Linked DNA regions of Homo sapiens: region 1 is linked to region 2. Evidence: promoter capture Hi-C in 16 types of primary human blood cells and fetal thymus (Javierre and others, 2016). All regions are on one chromosome and are shown on one strand. The core of a region is centred on a gene start or on the middle of the fragment in contact, and the rest is flanking DNA. Distances in the headings are between cores, read along the strand shown.

Region 1 (3,139 bases), core at 480-2,979, about 10 Mb after region 2:
GAAAAGGCTACATACTGTGTCTTAGTCTGTTCAGGCTCCTACAACAAAATCCCATAAACTGGGGAGCTTACATATATATGTAATATGGGGTGTCTGTGTGTGTGTGTTTTATAGAGACAGGGTCTCACTCTGTCACCCAGGCTGGAGTGCAGTGGCATGATCATAGCTCACTCACTACCACCTCGAACTCCTGGGCTCGTGCAATCCACCTGCCTCAGCCTCCCAAGTAGCTGGGACTACAGGTACACATGCCTGGCTTAGGTAGCTTATAAACAGTAGAAATTTATTTCACACAAAATTTCTCACAGTTCTGGAGACTGGGAAGTCCAAGATCAGTATTAACAGATTTGGTATCTGCTGAAGGCCCACTTACTGGTTCACAGATGGCTGTCTTCTTACCGTGTCCTCACATGGTAGAAGGTACTAACTAGCTCTATGGGTTGTCTTTTAGAAGGGCACTAATCTCATTCCTAAGGGCTACACCCTCCTGACCTAATCACCTCCCAAAGACCTACCTCTTAATACCATCACTTTAGCGGTTATGATTTCCACATGAATTTTGAGAGGCACAAACATTCGGACCATAGCAGTATGATTCCAGCTGTATAACACTCTAGAAAGGCAAAACTATGAAGACAGTAAAAAGATCAGCTGTTGCCAAAAGCAGTGTGTAGAAGGAATAAATAGGTAGGGGACAGAGGACAGTATTTTTACTGCCCTAAAAATCCTCTGTATAGTATCATAATGATGGATAAATATAATTATACATTTGTTCAGACCCACAGAATGTACACTACCAGGAATGAACCCAAATGTACACTATGAACTTGGGGGACTGCGTGTGAATGCAGGCTCATCAATTATAATAACTGTACCACTCTGGTGGGTGATGCCGATAATGGAGGTGGCTATGCGTGTGTCAGGGTAGGGGGTATATGGAAACGTCTGTACCTTCCTCTCAATTTTCCTGTGAACCTAAAAACTATTCTTAAAAAAGTCTTTAAAAAAAAGCAATCTGCAGTTCTATATAAGCTATATGCACATGAATATATATATATATATATATATATATATATATATATATACACACACACACACACATATATTAAGAAATTAAAAAATGAAAATCTACATATGCAGTTGAAATCTTATGGACACACATATACATACACATATTGATTCTGAAAGGATAAGCACCTGTTTGTTTATTCTTATGAACTAAGGCATGGGACCAAAAGGGAATGAGAACGGTTTTTACTTTTTACTTTTCTAGTGTCTGAATTATTTATAATGAGGTTTTATTTTGTAATTAGAAAAAGCAAAATATTTAAAGGACTGTAACAGAAGGTACCATGTGAATGAAAGACAAAGTGAGATAAAATCGAGGGAAGTTTAAAAAAAAAAAAAAGAGGTTAAAAACTGGCCAAATTTAAAAGAGAATTCATCACGTGTAAAGATGAGAAGGAAAGGAGAGAATTCTAAATAACGGTAAACAAAACAAACACAGCCAAGAGTTTGAGACCAGCCCAGATAAATGGTGAAACCTTGTCTCTTAAAAAAAAATAAATAAAACAAATTAGCTGGGCATGGTGGCACATGCCTGTAGTCCTAGCTACTCAGGAGGCTGAGGTGGGAGGATTACTTGAGCCTAGGAATCTGAGGCTGCAGTGAGCCACAGAGACCCCATCTCTAAAACAAACAACAAAACTACACACACAGAGGCAAACAGAAGAAAGCATGTAAGAAAGCACAGATAGTATGTGCAGAGATTACATGTAGTCTAGTTTTACTGCAGGACCTAGAGAGATTGAGAGAGAGGTAGATGATGCCAAGAAAGATGGAACTGAGAACCTATTCCAATTGTCCAGAAGATAACAGCCTGAAGTAAAATCCTTCCTTCTAAATTGCATGTGCCATTTAGAATTATCTAAAGGAAGAGAGAGAAAAAAAGCAAAGCCTGCCTTGTCTTCCAGGCTGAAGGAGCCCAGGGAATTCTACCACAAAATATGGCTCCCTGGTATAAGTATTTTGAATTAAAGCCCCATCAGAGATCAACAGATGCTAGAAGAGACTTTTTCCCTATCTACAAAAAGACCAGACAGATTCCCCAAGGGGAACAATTGTTTTCCCTTCTCCTCCTCAGGGAGAAGGGAAAACAATTTTATTATTTGCTGCAGAAAAGAAGACTGAAGAATGTAACCACACCCAAAGGACACTTTCACAAGATAAAGTCTGTCTCTTAGGCTCATTCAGTTTTCAAAGAGAATACAAGTTCGTCTCTGTCCTTCCAACTCTCCGTCCATTCCTTCTCCCTAGTAATCAGTTATTGCCGCTCGAGAGAATTACCTCCATTCACCATCTTTCCTTCCCCTCTGAAAATAGCTATATAAGTATGTGGGCCCCACTGGGATATTTAAGTAATCATTGTGATTCTCACCTGTGCACATTAATAAATTTGTATGCCATTTCTCTTACTAATCTGTTTCTGTCAGCTGATTTTCAGCAAACCGGCAGAGGTGGAAGGGGAAATTTTCCCTCGATCCCTACAAGGCTCTTCTGAACTCCTTGGGACTTACAGTCAATAAGATAAGCCAAGTTAACATAAAAGCTCTGCAGCCCCAATGACACAAAAACACTTAATATAAAATACTTGTGGATAAAAAGCCATGCTCTGTTTTCACTTATATGTAGGAGCTAAAAAAAATTGGATCTCATGGAGATAGAGAGTAGAACGATAGATACCAGAGGCTAGGAACAGTGTGTGAGGGAGAGTTGGGGGCTGGAAAGGAGGGGATAAGAGAGGTTGGTTAATGGGTACGAACATACAGTTAGAAGTAATGAGTTATAGTATTTGAATAGTACAGTAGGGGGACTATAGTTAACAATGACATATTGTGTTATTTCAAAATAGCTAGAAGATTTGAAATATTCCCAAGAAAAAATAAATGTTCAAGGTGATGCATATTCTAAATACCGATTTGATCATTACACATTGTATGCATGTATCAAAATATCACATCTACCCTATAAATATATACAAATATTATATATCATTTAAAAAAAAATTCATGCTCAACTTGAAGAATACTGAGACTGTAAAATGAAACCAGAAAAATAACTGTGTGAGGTAATGCATATG
Region 2 (3,196 bases), core at 161-2,660:
TCGCCCAGGCTGGAGTGCAGCGGTGTGATCTCAGCTCACCGCAACCTCCGCCTCCTGGGTTCGAGCAATTTTCCTGCCTCAGCCTCCCAAGCAGCTGGGATTACAGGCATGCGTCACCGTGTCTGGCTAATACTTTTTGTATTTTTAGTAGAGATGGGGTATGACCATGTTGGCCAGGCTGGTCTTGAACTCCTGGTCTGAAGTGATTCACCCACCTTGGCCTCCCAAAGTGCTGAGATTACAGGTGTGAGCCACCGTGCCCAGCCAAGCCATGGACTTTTAAATTCAATGTTTCTCGTTCCAGGTATTTGTCTCCTTAGATATTTATTGGCTTGCCTCAATCATCCAACAAATATTCCCTGGGCATCATCTGTGTGTCCAGTGCTGTGTTAACATCATCGACAGCTGGCATTTAGGATGGACATTTGGGGAGTTTGGAGAATTGGGGAGGTTACACTGTTGCCAGGTGGCAAAGTCTCATCTGATAAGATTGAAATCAGCTCCTCTCATGCACACACTGAACCATAGCGCCTCTCCAGAAAAGCTTAGCATTTTCCCAACCCCCATGCCTCTGACCACTATATTACTTGTGTCTGGAGAGTGCTTTCTCTATCCTCTCTGCAGGACTGTGTTCTCACCTCACCTCTTGGTGGGGAGAAGGCCACCCCTGGGAGCTGCTCTGCCCTGGTACCTGGGACCAGGGCCATGCACCATTGCTTTAGAGAACACCTGCTCCGACCCAGGTCCTGCACCAGGGATTTCCCACCAGCTGAATCAGACACAGTTGCTGTCCTCAGGGAGCTTACAGTCACGGGTCAATAGGATACTGCAGCTAGGATAGCAGTCCACACAGGGCCAGGGCGGGGCACTAAGGAGATGACAGTCATTTCTCCTAGAGAGTCATAGATGAAGTCATATGTCAGGTGAGTCTCGACAGATGAAAGGAAGAGTGTCTGCCAGGTGGACAAGAGGCAACAGCTTGAGCTCAGGAGGTGAGTCAGTGGGTGATGCCGAGAGAGGCATTCTCTTGATCAATTCAAGTGAAAAGCCCAAAGCTGTTTGATGGCTGAGAGGATGTGTAGGTCAACTTAAGGAGAAGAGCCTAAAACAGCTCTGACAAGTAAAAAAAAAAAAAAGGCAGAAGACAAGACAGGCCTATTTTTGCATGTTATAAAACACCGAGAAAAAAATATCAGGATGATTGTCATGGTCTTCTTTACATTTTCCTGTATTTTTCAATTTAAAATAATTGTTGGTGTTACCTGCTGCCCACGCACTCCTCCGTCTGCAGGGGGCGCACCGGCCGCCACCGCTCACTCCTTCAGGATGATGGGCGGGGCCTCCTGGGCCGGTGTGGACTGACGAGTGGCTGGCCGCCCTGTCCATCACGACATCCCGCCCCCGCGCTACGTCACATGACGCAGCCCATCATGGCGGCGGGAGCGCGGCTTCCCAGGCCCGCCGCTCCGCAGGGCTGCTGGCGTTGCTGCTGTTGAGAGGCGGCGGCGGCGGCGCAGGCGGGCGGGAAGGATGGTGTTTCTGCGACTGGAGCGGCAGGTGCGGACCGGGAGCCGGACCGAGGTTTGGCAGAAGCAACGTGTGCTCGGGAGCAACCGGCGCGGGTGCCACTGAGGCAGCGGAGGGAGGCAGGATCGACTGACGGGCGAACGGACGGACGGACGGAAGGCGACTCGAGGGCCGGCCCCGGAGCCGCGCCGTGGGCGAGATGCCGGGGCCGCCGGCGTTGCGGCGGAGGCTGCTGCTGCTGCTGCTGGTCCTCCTGATCGCCGGCAGTGCTGGGGCCGCGCCACTTCCGCAAACAGGTGCAGGTGAGCGGGCCCGCGGCGGGGACGGGGCTGCGGGGTCTTCGGCGTGGAGGGGAGGGGGCGGCAGGGCCGGGCCGGCCTCGGCGCCGAGGAATCGGAGGGCCTGCCGGGGGCGGGAAGCCCAGGGAGGCGAGTGATTAGGGAGATTTCTGCCGCAGGGGCGTGGGATTTGGGGGGGCGGGAGCGAGGCGACGTCGTTGGGGCTGGGGAGGGCGGCGGGCGAGGTAGCAGCCACCGACCCCTCCCGGGATAGGCTGCGGTGCCGGCCCTGGACCTGTTGCCTTAAGATCCTCAGCTTATATCGCTTCCTGGCAGTTCAGCTTCCCTTTCCAGATGTCACCTGCCTCTTGTGCTTTTTTTTCGCATCTCATAAGAACCGTTTCTTAGCCCTAATCATACTTAAATGCAAATGACTTGGCGAGCTGTGCGGAGTTTGTTTTCGCTCCTTGCAACTTATTCTGAAGTTGTAAATTGATTTTAGACGCTGTGCTTTTTATTCGGAATGTATCTCCGGGGATGAGAAGGAAACAACTATAAATATTTCTATTTTAGGAAGCCAGTGATTAGAGTAGCAGGCGTTGAATAACTATTGACAAACTGGCTTAAGGGTGATGGAAGTTTCTATTTTAGCTAACGTCAGTGTATGATTTTCTTTTCTCCCCCCCCGCCCATTTTCTCAACATCGTTTTTATTTGGGGTTTATTTTCCTAAATAAAACTTCAACCCAAGAAAACATCCCAAGTTGGGTCATTTTTCTAAAAAGGAAAAAAAAATCTAGGCTAACTTGGCGTTATTGACTGCCGCCATTACCTTTGAAATGGGGAAAGATTGAAATTTCATACATTCATAGAATGTTAGAGTTAGAAGAGACCTTAAAGAAAATTTAGACCAATTTCTTCTTTACGTAGTAGGAGATACTGGGCATGTTGGGTCAAATGACCTACCCAGGGTGACACAGCTTCGTTGTAGGCAGAGCCCCAAAGCCAGGTCTTAGATACCCCTAGTTGTATGATTTTTTTTAAGTCTTGTAACTGTTTTGGAATACTCTCGAGGTCAAGAGTTATTTTGGAATAATGTTAATTGGGTACAGAATGTGGATGTACTGTCTCCAGTAAAGACATATTTTTCAAACAAATCTACGATGAAAGCTACATGTAATTGCTTCCAGAGCTACATCAGGGTTTGTCATTGAGTGCCCTTTAGTTGAACGTTAAATGTCCTCATTGTACCGTATAATGTAGCACTAAATTTCTGTTACTGCCTTAGATCAAATACTTGTGAGGTGAATTCTGTTTTCTGATCCGATAGATAAGAAGAGTAAATGTTATCAGATGTGTATAGGCAACCCCGGAAAGAGTCACAGGAAATGC

The links. Contacts are between HindIII fragments. The CHiCAGO score rates a contact against its expected background, and 5 or more counts as called.
Region 1: a contact is called between a fragment that was not itself captured here and the fragment with the promoter of LMTK2 in region 2, in 1 of 17 cell types (neutrophils). The highest score is 5.5, in neutrophils.

The regions. Positions count from the first base shown.
Region 1 is chr7:108,517,675-108,520,813 of GRCh38, forward strand. The region is part of intron 2 of PNPLA8 (patatin like domain 8, phospholipase A2); the gene reads right to left. Among named protein-coding and RNA genes, the nearest start is that of PNPLA8, 6.9 kb to the right of the region's middle. The HindIII fragment of the contact is 9,624 bases long and covers 1-3,139 here.
Region 2 is chr7:98,105,452-98,108,647 of GRCh38, forward strand. It overlaps LMTK2 (lemur tyrosine kinase 2), which reads left to right and starts at 1,411. Exons shown (of 14, transcript NM_014916.4): 1 at 1,411-1,829. The coding sequence starts at 1,727. The HindIII fragment of the contact is 4,003 bases long and covers 543-3,196 here.